Regions from separate parts of the Homo sapiens genome. Here regions 1, 2 and 4 are each linked to region 3. Evidence: promoter capture Hi-C in 16 types of primary human blood cells and fetal thymus (Javierre and others, 2016). All regions are on one chromosome and are shown on one strand. Each heading gives the region's core, a stretch centred on a gene start or on the middle of the fragment in contact. The rest is flanking DNA. Distances are from core to core; before and after follow the strand shown.

The links. Contacts are between HindIII fragments. The CHiCAGO score rates a contact against its expected background, and 5 or more counts as called.
Region 1: a fragment that was not itself captured here is called in contact with the fragment with the promoter of UBL5 in region 3 in 1 of 17 cell types (neutrophils); the score reaches 5.4 in neutrophils.
Region 2: the fragment with the promoter of CDC37 here is called in contact with the fragment with the promoter of UBL5 in region 3 in 2 of 17 cell types (total CD4 T cells and non-activated CD4 T cells); the score reaches 10.5 in total CD4 T cells.
Region 4: a fragment that was not itself captured here is called in contact with the fragment with the promoter of UBL5 in region 3 in 1 of 17 cell types (endothelial precursors); the score reaches 6.2 in endothelial precursors.

Annotation. Positions count from the first base shown.
Region 1 is chr19:9,313,038-9,316,704 of GRCh38, forward strand. No RefSeq gene overlaps it. Among named protein-coding and RNA genes, the nearest start is that of ZNF699, 5.0 kb to the left of the region's middle. The HindIII fragment of the contact is 2,430 bases long and covers 1,192-3,621 here.
Region 2 is chr19:10,401,630-10,404,843 of GRCh38, forward strand. It overlaps CDC37 (cell division cycle 37, HSP90 cochaperone), which reads right to left and starts at 1,913. Exons shown (of 8, transcript NM_007065.4): 1 at 1,749-1,913. The coding sequence starts at 1,850. MIR1181 (microRNA 1181) reads right to left here and starts at 1,909; the gene lies at 1,829-1,909. RefSeq lists a silencer at 1,629-1,688 and an enhancer at 2,089-2,438. The HindIII fragment of the contact is 3,760 bases long and covers 1-3,214 here.
Region 3 is chr19:9,825,880-9,829,321 of GRCh38, forward strand. It overlaps UBL5 (ubiquitin like 5), which reads left to right and starts at 2,039. Exons shown (of 5, transcript NM_001048241.3): 1 at 2,039-2,105; 2 at 2,448-2,514; 3 at 2,713-2,796; 4 at 2,958-2,995. The coding sequence starts at 2,459. RefSeq lists enhancers at 1,621-2,345, 1,756-1,805 and a silencer at 1,849-2,155. The HindIII fragment of the contact is 5,434 bases long and covers 1,495-3,442 here.
Region 4 is chr19:9,149,952-9,153,330 of GRCh38, forward strand. The region is part of intron 1 of ZNF317 (zinc finger protein 317); the gene reads left to right. Among named protein-coding and RNA genes, the nearest start is that of ZNF317, 11 kb to the left of the region's middle. The HindIII fragment of the contact is 1,338 bases long and covers 1,139-2,476 here.

The DNA of each region.
Region 1 (3,667 bases), core at 1,157-3,656, 510 kb before region 3:
CCTTCACCTCCTGGGTTCAAACAATCCTCCTGCCTCAGCCTCCCGAGTAGCTGGGATTACAGGCATGTGCCACAACACCCGGCTAATTCTGTATTTTTAGTAGAGATGGAGTTTCTCCATGTTGGTCAGGCTGGTCTCGAACTCCTGACCTCAGGTGATCCACCTGCCTTGACCTCCCAAAGTGCTGGGATTACAGGTGTGAGCCACCATGCCCGGCCAATCAGAAGTAATTTCAATTTTTCATCTGCCATGCAAAAAAGGTGAGGGATTGCAAAGGCAATAGCCTCTGGTCCTTTTGTTACTTGGGCATGGAAAGTGGGGTTTCCTTTTGATCTAGTTCTAGAAAGTCAGCGTGATTGGCCTTAGGTTCCCTTCCTCTAGACCCTATTCTACCTCAACACTGAAACTTGGAAAGGAAGCTTCTTCCTCCTTCCTTGTCTTCCAGCACCCTACACTGGTAATGGGTAAAAGAGAAATATTTATAAGGCCCATCTCCATTATCACAAAGCAGAAAAAAAGGACAAATTTGTAGCATAAGTAATAAATCTATAACTAGGACAGTGGTCAAAGCATGTTTTGCCTTGGTTTTCCTTTACTGACAGACCAGGTCCTAGCAACACCAAGAATTGGTTCATGGTATCCAGACTGCTTTTCCTCCCAATTTGTGGCAGGTCAATTCTCCCTGACAATCACACAGACAGGCCTGCATGACAGTCACACAGACAGACCTGCACAGCACTTCTGTTACACAGACAAATTTCCACAAAACTGCCTTAACATTGAGCAAATAGTTAAATCTAGGGAAATCAGTGCCCAGACATCAAAGCTAGAAATGAAACACATGGTCAGTTGAAGCTTCACACGGGCTTCTCCCTAACCTGGAGCAAGCCAAAATAATACAGACAGTCTTACATTCCTAGTACCAGCACGTGTCTCAGGTGGACGAAATCTGAGATGAGTCAAGATAACAGAGGCAGCTGTTTGAATAGATTCACTGGAGAGTCTAAGGCAGCTCTCTGGACCCAAGCTGTAAAGGAGATAATGTGTCCAGAGTTGGTTCCTGCTGGTGGGTTTGTGGTCTTGCTGACTTCAAGAATGAAGCTGCGGACCTTTGCAGTGAGTGTTACAGCTCTTAAAGATGGCATGGACCCAAAGAGTGAGCAACGTTTATTGTGAAGAGCGAAAGGACAAAGCTTCCACAGCGTGGAAGGTGACCCTAGCGGGTTGCCTTGCTGGCTGGGGGGGGGTGGCCAGCTTTTATTCCCTTATCGACCCCTCCCATGTTCCGTTTCTGTCCTATCAGAGTGCCCTTTTTTCAATCCTCCCTGTGATTGGCTACTTTTAGAATCCTGCTGATTGGTGCGTTTTACAGAGTGCTGATTGGTGCATTTTACAATCCGCTTGTAAGACAGGAAAGTTCCCCAAGTCCCCACTCAACTCAGGAAGTCCAGCTGGCCTCACCTCTCAATTATCCCTCTAAACAGGTCACCCAACAGCTGTTGGGAACTGGGTGATGACCGCTCTGGGCTACTTCCTGCCGGATAGGGGTGAAGAAGGGGCCCTGCAGTTGTAGTGTCCTCCAGAGGGGAACTCTCTAGGCCAGTGAAAGGGCCAGTGGGTCAGTCCAGGGGTCCTCAGTAGAAGTTCTGAGTTGAGCTCATTTGGGGTTCCATTTGTAAGACCCTCTGTAGCTTGATGGCCTCGATCCTGGAGGAAACAAATTTGACAAGGTTGTTAAAAATACAGGACCCAAAGGCAAGTAATAGCAAGATGGCTGTCCTGAGACTGAGAAAGGGGAGAAGCCATGTTGCCCAACTCCAGAGGTTGGTATAAGAGTTTGAAAGGCGTTGTCTGATTTCAGAAGCCTTTTCCTGTAAACGATAAGCGGCATCTCATACTATCCCTTACTGGTTAGTGTAAAAGCAACACTCTTCCCTTAAGAATGTACAGTCCTCCTTTCTCAGCAGTGAGGAGGTCTAGGCCTCAGCGGTTTTGGACAGTCACTGCCACTAAAGAGTCTATTTGGGATTGTAGAGTAACGATAGATTTTATTTCTTGCAAACTGTTTGAAAAATCTTTTGAGAGTGTGTGGTAATAGGATAATGAAGTAGATAAACTGGCTATTCCAGTTCCTGTAGCAGTGGCCATTCCTAACCCTATAAGTTGGAGTATTAGTTGTATGGCCCTGCACTGACAAACTTGAGCTTTGAGGGGCACTGATAGGGTCTGATTTCCTGGGGCAATGTCAATGTTGGGACTTAGGAAGACTAAGGTGCAGGTGCGTCTCCAGTTGGTGGGGAGGCAGATATAGGTTGAAGTTCCACATGGGAAGAATATGCCTTGGCTGGGTAGACAGAAATGGTTGTGTATGTTAAAAAGGCGTGTGAGTTTGTTCTTTTCATTTTCCCATACTCCTGGAGTACTTGTCAAGGTAGCTCCAGTGAGCAGCTGGAAAGGGGTATTGGGAGCAAACTGAGTGGCTCCCTGTGTTCTATTTTCCCATTAGAGAAAAAACCATTTTGTATCTACTAGGAACCATTCAAGAGAGTGATTGAAAGAGGGGATGAGAAGGCATTCATTAGTGGTGGGGGCGCTGCTGCAGGGGTTCCAGGGGTGAATGGTCATGCAGGGAGGATGTTTGCCATTACAAACTGTTTAAGCAGGGAGGAGGTGATGATTTTAGGGGGCCCTGAGAAGCAGACAAGCCATCTGAATGGAGCTGTTTGGGTGACTCGGAAGTTACTATGATCAGTTGGGGCTTGAAGTTGTAGGGTATAATTACACTGATGGGATAGCAGGTGTCCCAGGGGCAGGCCTGATAACAGGTTCCATTGGATGCATAAAGGGGCTTGGAAAGTTAAGATGGTATTCGCGGTTACAGGGCCATGTATGGGTTTTTCATTGCTCATGTAATAGATGAAGTTGGAAATGTAAGAGCGTAAAAGCTGGATTGTACGTCCTGTTAGGGTATTTTTGGTCCTATCGGAGATGGGGAAGTTGGCTAATGATTGCATATTTACAAGTTGGAAAGGGTATTTTCCTTCATAACGGGTGTCCAAAGTTTAACTCGGGTGTGGTGAATCCAAGATTCCACTTCTGCCACCTTAACTGTAGTGGGGGTAGAGAGGATTACGGAGTATGTTCCTTCCCACAAGGAATCCATAGATGGGGAGGTAGAGGGGAGGGACTTGACCAACACTAGATCTCCTGGTTGGAACAACTCTGTTCCCTTGTCTTCGTGACATCCTTCGGGTAGGTTTTTAAGATTTTATTGATATTTTGCCAAAGAAGTTATATCTTTGACCAAACTGGCCATTTCCTGATAAAGTAGAAGGTCATTAGTGAGAAAAGGTCATCCATACAGCATTTCATATGGACTGAGCCCCATTTTGTGAGGAGAATTTCGGATTCTCAACAAGGCCATGGGCAACAGAGTAGGCCATGGGAAATGAGTTTCTTGTGTTAGTTTCCTTAGGTGCCTCTTGAGTGTTTCATTTGCCCTCTAGACCTTCCCTGAGGATTGTGGCCTCCAGGTGCAGTGAAGGTGATATTTTATCCCTAGTGCCCTGGAAATTCCCTGAGTTACCGTGGCTTTAAAAGCCAGACTGTTGTCGCTTTGTAAGCTTTGGGGAAGCCCAAATCTAGGAATTATTTAATGAATTAGGTC
Region 2 (3,214 bases), core at 663-3,162, 580 kb after region 3:
GTGGCTTGCTTGGCAGGTACACTACCCAGGAGACTCAGGATTTAAGGAATAGGTCTGGAAGTGGGACTGGGAGCTAGATGAAGAGACTAATGCCGTATTCCAGAGTATTCTGGAAGGATGGGAAAGGGACCTTCTAGTTGTTTCTGGATAAATGATGGGGAATTGCCCTATGGGAGGGTGGGGTAAGAGATCCTCACTAGAAGGTTCTGAGAGGTATATGCCCTTCGTTTAAGAGCACAACATGGCTGGGTGCGGTGGCTCACGCCTGTAATCCCAGCACTTTGGGAGGCCGAGGTGGGTGGATCAACTGAGGTCGGAAGTTCAAGACCAGCCTGACCAACATGGAGAAACCCTGTCTCTACCAAAAATACAAAATTAGCCAGGCATGGTGGTGCATCATGCCTGTAATCCCAGCTACTCAGGAGGCTGAGGCAGGAGAATCACTTGAACCCGGGAGGCAGAGGTTGCAGTGAGCCAAGATTGTGCCACTGCACTCCAGCCTGGGCGACAAGAAGGAAACTTCGTCTCAAAAAAAAAAAAAAAAAAAAAAAAAGGAATACAACAGACACTGGTATGTAATGCAGGCACACTCATTTGGGGTAGCAGGAGGTTAAACCTTTAAGTCTTAGTCATCCCATTGGCTCGTGAGCACTGAGAGGGTGGTGGGACATGGATCACCCAGGCTTGGGATTCTGGGGTCTGGATTCGGGACCTCTGTTGTGGTCAGATAGAAGAAGGGGTGGTGAATTTAGAATCAGACCAGGAGAGTCCCTGGATAAGAGCAGGGACAATTTGGGTCACAGAGTAGCTAACAGGCTGGGGACAAAAGGTGGGGTGGGTTTGGGGTTCTGGGCTTGAGTTAGGGGAGAGTTTCCAATGCTGGCTGAGGCTCATACAGGAAGCCAGTCTGGGAAGTGGGTGGTGACAGGGTCTGCAATACCAAGTAGGAGCAGGGGCTCTGGCTAGGCCGGAAGCCACGTGGGCAGGATTTCCTGGTATAATGGGAAATGGGTCTACCGGAGGCCAAAGGAGAGGCTGGAATGTGAGGCTCTATCGGGTTGGAGCTGGTAGTTAGATCCAGAGGGGAACCAGATTCCAAAACCCAAGTACTCGGTGAGACTAAGGATCCTGAAGGGGGACGGTTCTACACTCTAGGAAGGGGGTCCTGGGTGTGGGCAGGGACAGGAATATCAGAGTAGCACAGAGTTCCTTGTTCCGTTTAGAAAAGGAGTGGCGACTCCGGATCTGAATGGGAACCCCGGATCAAGATCCCGGAAAGTAGATCCCGGGACAGACCAAAGTATTGGGGGTCCAGACTACGGAGGTGGGGGGGCGATGGGAGATCCCAGATAGGAAGTGAATACCCGAATAGGATGAGGGATCATCTAGAAGAATTTGGGGTCCAAACTTTGAGGCAGAGTTCTGGGTATAAATGTTAACTGCCGAACAGAATTAGGGAGAACCCCCAAGACTCGTCTAGGGGACTCCAGACTATGAAGAAGTTCTAGGGGGTGAATAGGGAATCCCACGCAAAAATCGGAGCAGGGAGTGGGGGAGCGGAGATCCAGGGCAGGGACTCAGGGTCCCAATGGTACTGGGGTCCCGGAGTTGAATCGAAGCTCCTGAAAATCCAGACTGGGGGGGTGAGAATCCTAGGTGTGAACAGCGGGGTCCCTGGGCAGTATCGGGGATCACAACTCCGAAGCGGGGTCCGGGAGTGGGGAAAGGGATGGGCGCGCGCGCCTTACCTGATGCCGCCAGCGGAAGAGACTGGCCGTGTCGATGTTGGGGTGCGTCTCGTCTTCATCATCAGACACCTCAATGTGGTCCCACACGCTGTAGTCCACCATCTTGCCTTGGCGGCCCAGCCCGCTCCGGCTCGGGTGGCGGCGACGGCGGCAGCAGTGGAGACTAGGAGCGCGGAGCCCCGCCCCTTCCGCTTCCGCCGAGCGCGGGAAACCCCGCCCTGTGTGACGTCACATCCCTAGTAACCGCGGCAGCGGCACTAGCTACCCAGCCAGCCTTAAAGGGCCCTGCGTAAGTGTTCCGGCCCCCTGGAGTTCCCGCAGAGACTCCGCGTCATCGGGCGCTGGGGCTCCGCTAGGTCTCCTGGGGGCATATGAGTGCGCGCTTCAACTCCGAGCCCCCCTCATCTCCCGCCGCTCCACGGTGGGCGTTTGGGGTGGCAGGGAGGGGACGGTTGATGAGACTGAGAGGACTGTCCCCTCAGCCACGCCGCAGTGACGTCTGCAAGGGGTAGGGACACGGCGGGAAGGCCCTCCCCCTGCCCTTCGTAAACGGGGACCTAAGCCTGCGCTGGAGAGGGGCGCCTGATGACTCCTCGGACTTTCTCAGCCCGAGGAGGACTGGACCTGCCCTGGGGGTGTCTAAATCGGGGGTGGTATGGCCCTCCCCTTGCAGGGTTAAACGTGGAGGGGAGACTGTGGCCCTGCCTTGGGAGCTGGGGTTTCCCCGCCTCGGCAACAGCCTTCTCCTTGTCTTCCACCTCCTGCCATTCGCAGCGAGGACTCGCGCGAGCGCGCGCGCGCACACACACACACACACACACACACACGCACACACACACACACACACACTTTGGAATCACCCGGACCCCCTCAAAACGGGTCTCGGCTCCCCACCCCGCTGGCCGCTGGGTGTCGCTAGAGTCTAGCCCACGGCGCGTATTCCTGGCCCCGCGCTTGGTGGGGGGAATCGTGGAGGGGTGGAAGGGGGCTTTCCTTGTCGTCACAGTCTGGGGCCACGCATAGCCCCTCCCCGTTCGTCTTGGGGTACGCTTCCTCCGCCGGGGCTCTAAGGACTCCATTACTCTAAGCATGCAGGGCCTCGACCACCTCACACTTCCATGCATCCCAATCCACGCTTTGATACCAGGATAATAGGCCGTGTTGCAGCCTTGGGCCAGGATTATCTCAGATTAAAGGGTGCTCCCTCGGGGGTCAGGCTGGATAGGAGGAGCTCCAGCCACTCCGGTGAGGGGCGCCTCTTCCTAGTCTCCCCTGGAGCCGACGTTGGAGGCAGTGCCTGGAGAGAGCGAGCGAAGTTCTCCAGAAGGGGGAGGATTCCCCGGTGCATGGAGCGGGAAGGGCCATCGGACAAAAACGTCCTCCCGCTGCCGCCCTTCCCCCTCGCGCTTCATTCAAACCCGCGAGTGGGCGGGCAGGGGCGGGGGAGTCCCCATCTCCTACCCCTC
Region 3 (3,442 bases), core at 789-3,288:
TGGAAAAAAGCACGGATCACAGATTGTTCCTGGGGTTTTGTGTTCCTTTTCTCCCAGGCTTGTCCTTAACCTTGTCTACATAAACCTGTCAATTTATTGAGACCTGTCTCAGATACTTTTTGGTTTACAAATTGTTTGACTGAATTGAGGAAGGACGGTCCTTGTCCCACCAGCCCTCACAAACCTGGAATCTGGTACAAAGTGCTCCCCAAAGATACAGCTGCAGGAGATTGTGCAAATGTGCAATGTTTCCAGTTACCTCGCAGGCATTTAAGGTTGGTGACTGGCAGTGAGAAAGGAGAATAGGGAAAATGAGGCAGAAGAATAGCAAAGGGAATTAAAAGTTGGATAAAGGGTAAAATACGTAAAAGCAGAGAGCAGAAGCAAGGTGAAAGGGCACCCGCCCCTTCTTGCTCACCCAGCAAGAAGCAAGATAAATGGCAGAAGCTGAGGAGACAAAACAAAAGGAAGATTAAAAACTGAGTAAAGGCCGGGCACAGTGGCTCACACCCAACACTTTGGGAGGCTGAGGCAGGCGGATCACGAGGTCAGGAGATCGAGACCATCCTGGCTAACACAGTGAAACCCCGTCTCTACTAAAAATACAAAAAAATTAGCCGAGGGTGGTGGGGGGCGCCTGTAGTCCCTGTTACTCGGGAGGCGGCTGAGGCAGGACAACGGCGTGAACCCGGGAGGCGGAGCTTGCCGTGAGCCCAGATCACGCCACTGCACTCCAGCCTGGGCGACAGAGCGAGACTCCATAAATAAATAAATAAATAAATAAATAAAATTAAAAAAAAAACAGTAAAAATCCCACGGCCGGGGAAATCAGGACCAAACCAGTAAGGAGCAGCTCTTTAGGCATAAGCACGCGCATTAAAGACAAAAAGTATCCTTAACATGATAAGGATAACCAGCTCATTAGCGCTCATGCATATGGACGGCATATCATGAATGGAGGCGGCTCTCAAGCACACAGGGGCCAAAGTAAGCAACACACCTATCATTCAAAAAGGTAGACACTGGCTAGATATTAGGCAGCCTTGGGAAGAGAAAAAAAGCCTGGCCAATAAGGTGAAACCCCATCTCTACTAAAAGTACAAAAATTAGCCGGGCGTGGTGGCGGGCGCCTGTAATCCCAGCTACTTACTCGGGAGGCTGAGGCAGGAGAATCGCTTGAACCCGGAAGGCGGAGGTTGCGGTGAGCCGGCACCGCGCCATTGCACTCCAGCCTGTGCAACAGAGCGAGACTACGTCTCAGAAAAAAAAAAAAAAAAAGACCCAAACTATACCAAGCTGGGGCTGATCTTATCTCGCAGAGGTCAGTCCGCTCTCCCCACTCCGAGAGTGGAATACTGTGCTTAATAAACTTGCAGCTTTGCCATCTCTGTGTGTCTGGTCCAAATCTTTCTTCAGGACACCAAGAGCCTGGAACTGTCCGGCACCATGCGGTAACAGCAGCTGTTGGGCAGCGTAGAGTCTACTCTAGGATCAAGCTTCGCCTACTGACTGGAGTCCGTATCCCGGGGGAACGCGATGGCCAGAGGGAAGAGGTGAGCCAAATGCTCACCAAGCCCAGCCCTGAATGAACCCAGGGGGTCAGAAGGGATGACTGCAGAACTCGTCCCCCACCCCCACCCTCCGCCCTTGCTCCTAGTTGCCGCTGCAAGAGGCTTCGGGCTCAGGATCAGGAGCTTACCCCTACTCCCGGGACCCTCTGGCGTCCCCACCATGTGACCGAGTCTCCCTGCAACAAACAATGACTTCAAACGAGCTGGGCGCCGGCGCCTGACCTCTGACTCTCGCTCCACGCCCCTTCCCTGGCCACAAACCCGCCGAGGCCCCCCTCTCTACCCGGCGCGCCTACCACAGGCGCGACACCTGTCAAGCCTTGGGACACCGAAACCGTACCTGGGAACAGCAAACACACCACAGACTGCAGACCCGGAAGAACTTGTCCCAGTGTTGACCACACCCCCTGGCTAGGGGCAGGGCTTCCGGCCTCGAACTTTAACTTCCGCTTCCGGTTCCTAGCGTTAACTGCGACCGGGGTTCAGCGCTCGGGTGAGGAGCTGGTGGCGTCGGCAGGTTCGAGGCGATTCGAGGTGAGGGGGTCAAGCGGAGAGGCTCGGAGTCGGAGAAAGCTGTCGCGACCCAGCCACCCAGGGTCTGGGGTCGGTGGGAGGTGAGGCCAGGGAGTTTTGTGGCAGGGCTTTCAGGCGGCGAGAAGGGGCGGAGGCGCGGCTCCCCGGGGTTCGCGGCCCTGGGACAGGGGACTTGGGGCCTGGGAGTATTCGAGTCCGGGGGGTTGGGGGCAGAACGGAAGGCTCAGTAACCTGGAATTTTAGGGCCTGGGACTGGGAGACTTGTAGGCTGGGGCTTCTGGGCCTGGGAGACGCCTGAAGCTCTGACTTTGCTGCCTCCCACCCACCCCCCGCTTTGTGTAGCTCCAGCTAGGATGATCGAGGTTGTTTGCAACGACCGTCTGGGGAAGAAGGTCCGCGTTAAATGCAAGTATCCACTGGCAGCCGAGAGGCAGTGGTACCCGCAGGGGTGCTTGGCGTGAGGCAGGCAACTCAATCTGTGTTGTCGGATGGTTTTAGTTAAACCCGGGAGAGGGGGCGGATGGGGTCCTGGCAGATGGTATTCTGCCCTAGAATGTCCTCTTCCTCGTTCTACCGCTTCCATTTGCCTTAACTGCTCTGCGCCCAGCACGGATGATACCATCGGGGACCTTAAGAAGCTGATTGCAGCCCAAACTGGTACCCGTTGGAACAAGATTGTCCTGAAGAAGTGGTGAGTGCAGCGGTAGAGCCACTGGGTGGACTGGACTAGGCCGGAAGGTTTTGGTTGGGGGAGCGCTGCAGGCAGCCCTTTGCTTAGGCTTGGCTACCTCATTTGGCCTACAGACTGAAGAGCCTCCTTAGCCTTATCTCTGAAATGTCTCTTTTTCTTAGGTACACGATTTTTAAGGACCACGTGTCTCTGGGGGACTGTATCCTTTGTGTGACTTTTTGAGGAAGCATCTACATACCCAGCCTCGGTTATCTGTTCAAAACTAAAGTCTGCATGAGCTTATGCATATTAAGTGTTTAACTTAATACGTGGCACATGGTGAGCACTTAGAAAATGGGAGCTAGGTAATTATTTGGTTGGGGAGGAGAGTGGTTGGTGAAATAGTTTGACTTCAAGTTCAAAATATTTATTACTGACCTCCACCTGAGTGCTGGACAGTAGGTCAGGGTGGGGTGAGACTCAGGCATATCTATTGTGCAAAAGGAGCAGAAACTTTTTACAATTTTTATTTTATTTATTTATTTTTTTGAGACAGTCTGGCTCTGTCGCCCAGGCTGGAGTGCAGTGGCACGATCTTGACCCACTGCAACCTCCACCTCCCGGGTTCAAGCAATTCTGCCTCAGCTTCCCAAGTAGCTGGGATTAC
Region 4 (3,379 bases), core at 558-3,057, 680 kb before region 3:
GTTTTAAAGTTAAGGCTGGCAGGATTTGCTGGTGATGCAGGTGTGGTTTATGGAAAAGAAAGAGGAGAGTTGAAGGTGATGACGAGCAAGGCTTTTGACTTGAGCCCCTGGGAGGCTGGAGCTGCCATCAACGTGGGGAGGCTGGTGGCAGCACAGTTGTAGGTGTTTAATGTGGGATCCTGTTGGCTGTTGCAGTAGGGATACTAAGTAGCCACCTGGCTGCCACTCACTCTGAGTCATTCTGGGTGGGGCAGGTGCCAGGGAGCGGAGAGTGGCACCCACTATAAATGAACAATTCTGTTAAGTAATTGTGAAATCGTCAGTGGTCATTTTATTTTAATGATAATGGCATTTTAGAGTGAATGTTTGTTTACTGAGCCTATAGAGTTCCATACATAACCCAGTGTTAAAGTCTTCAGTTTCCAGATGAGAAAACTGAGTTTTGATGAACTGACTCTTGGGAGGGGAATGAGCAGAACTGTGGGCTTGCATTAAAGGGGAGTCTACTGAGGCCTCAGGGACAGGGAGACCTTCACAGAAGTGCAATCAGAACCTGGGTGTCAGCACCTCCAAATGGTGGGGGTGTTTCACAATGTGGACCTGTGGGAGATGGGGGAGAGGGGCCCAGGGGAACCCTGACCTTTAGGGGCTGGGCAGAGGAGGGATCTCAAGCCAGAGTCTTCAAAAGAGCAACCAGAGATGTGAGCACAGACTGGGATGAGTGGGCTATGGCTGCAAGAGCAGTGGCATTCCCAGGAAGAGGGAGATAGATTCATAGTGAGCAAGATGATGTGTCAGGAGGTCAGGCAAAGGAAGGGTCAAGATGTAGTGTCAAGGAGTTCCCACATAGGGGACAGTACAGGTGACATAGGTCACTTTGAGAGGCAACAAGATGTGGCTCCGCAGTCACGTCAGCTGGGCTCACAACTTCCACCTATGACCTTGACCAAGTGTCTCGGACCCTTGGTGCCTTATTCTCTGGGTACTTGAGAATAATTCCGGGAGGTTGTGAGGATTAAATAGGAGTGGCCCTGGAAAGACTCAGGAGAATGTCTCATACCTTGTAAACACTACACATGTCGTTATTTGTAGAATTGGCATTAATGTTGGTGGGGAAAGGTGGAATGGGACCTGCAGAAGCTTGTTAGTTGAGCATGAATGAATGAATGGTAGGTGAGGATGGAGATACTGTGCCTCAGGAACTGAGCCTCTGTCACCCTCTCTCCCCTTCCTCAGCAGTGACTTAATGTCAGAACCCAAAGGCACAATGACTAGAAAAGGGCTTTGTAAAAAGAATGAAAGCGTCATGCATCTTTGAGTTGGCCCAAGATCAAATTTGGTGTTGAATAATGAATCCCCAAGGCAGAGTTTATACGTTAAAACACACTTCCTATATTATTGTTTTGAAATGTTTCTGAATATCTAAAACAATTCCAATAGCAGAAATACTAATTGATGTTGAAAAAGATTGTTATAACCCTGGTAATGTTTAAAAGTGGTAATATTGATTATTGATCTGAGTCAGATGTTAAAGTAGCAGCGTCACGGTTCTTACATCAGTGCTGTCATGAGAGTCGCGGTGGAAGCCAGAGAGAGGAGGCATGTTCATACAAAGCAAATTAAATCCCCTCCCGAGGTGTGGGCCACCATACCTCACCAATGTATTGTGGTTTTGATGTTATTTCCTTAATGACTGATGTTGTTAATCATCTTTTCATGTGTTTACAGTTCATTTCTGTAAATTTGGAGAAATGTCTGTTCTGTTCAAGTCTCCTGCCCACTTTTTTACTGGGTTGTCTTTGTTGTTGAGTTTATAATGATATTAAATCCCTATCACATACATGATTTGCAAATATTTTCCACCATTCTGTGTCTCATTCACTTTCTTGATAATGTCCTTGATGTTAATTCTAAATGTTTGGTAGGGTTCACCAGTGAAGCCCCTTGGTCCTGGACTTTTTTTTTTTTTTTTTGAGACGGAGTCTTGCTCTGTCGCCCAGGCTGGAGTGCAGTGGCGCAATCTCGGCTCACTGCAAGCTCCGCCTCCCAGGTTCACACCATTCTCCTGCCTCAGCCTCCCGAGTAGCTGGGACTACAGGCACTCATCACCACGCCTGGCTAATTTTTTGTATTTTTAGTAGAGATGGGGTTTTACCGTGTTAGCCAGGATGGTCTCGATCTCCTGACCTCCTGATCCACCCGCCTCGGCCTCCCAAAATGCTGGGATTACAGGCGTGAGCCACCGTGCCCAGCTGGTCCTGGACTTTTTATTTAATGGCTTTTGATGACTGCCTCAGTCTCTTGTTATAGGTCTCTCAATTTTCTTTTTCTTCTAGAGCCTGTTTGGGTATGTTTCAAGGAATTTGATACATCTAGAGCATTGATCCCCAAGCCCTGGGCCACAGACAGGTACCGGTCCCTGGCCTTTTAGGAACAAGGCCCTGCCGCAGGAGGTGAGCGGAGGGCAAGTGAGTGAAGCTTCATCTGTATTTACAGCGGCTCCCCATCACTCACATTACCCCTGAACTCCACCTCCTGTCAGATCATCAGCAGCATTAGATTCTCATAGGGGCGCAGACCCTATTGTGCACTGCACATGCAAGGGATCTAGATTGCACACTCCTTATGAAAATCTAATGCCTGATGATCTGTCAGTGTCTCCCATCACCTCCAGATGGGACCATCTAGTTTCAGGAAAACACTCTCAGGGCTTCCACTAATTCTATATTATGGTGAGTTGTATAATTATTTTACCATATATTACAATGTAATAATAATAGAAATAAAGTGCACAATAAATGTAATGCACTCAAGTCATCCCAAAACCATCCCCCCTCACCTCACCATCCATGGAAAAATTGTCTTCCATGACACCAGTCTCTGATGCCAAATTGGGTGGGGACTGCTAGTGTAGATGATCTAATGTGTTGGTGCATAATTGTTCATGGCATTCTCTTACAGCCCTTTGAATTTCCGTAAGGTCGGTAGTAATGTCCCACTTCCACTGATGATTTTAGTTACTTGCATCTTTTTTTGTTAGTAATTCTAGCTGTAGTTTTGTCACCTTTGTTGATCTTTTTGAAAGAACCAACTTTTGTTTTCATTAATTCTCCTATTCTCTATTTCATTTGTCTCTGCTTTAATCTTTATTTCTTCACTTTTGCTTTCCCTAGGTTTAGTGTGTCAAGGTAGTTGTTTTTGTTTGTTTGTTTGTTTGTTTGTTTGTTTGAGACTGAGTCTCGCTCTCTCACCCAGGCTAGAGTGTGATGGCACGATCTCAGCTTACCTCAACCTCCGCCTCCCGGGTTCAAGCGATTCTCCTGCCTCAGCCTCCCGAGTAGCTGGGATTACAGGCATGCACCACCATGCCCAGCTAATT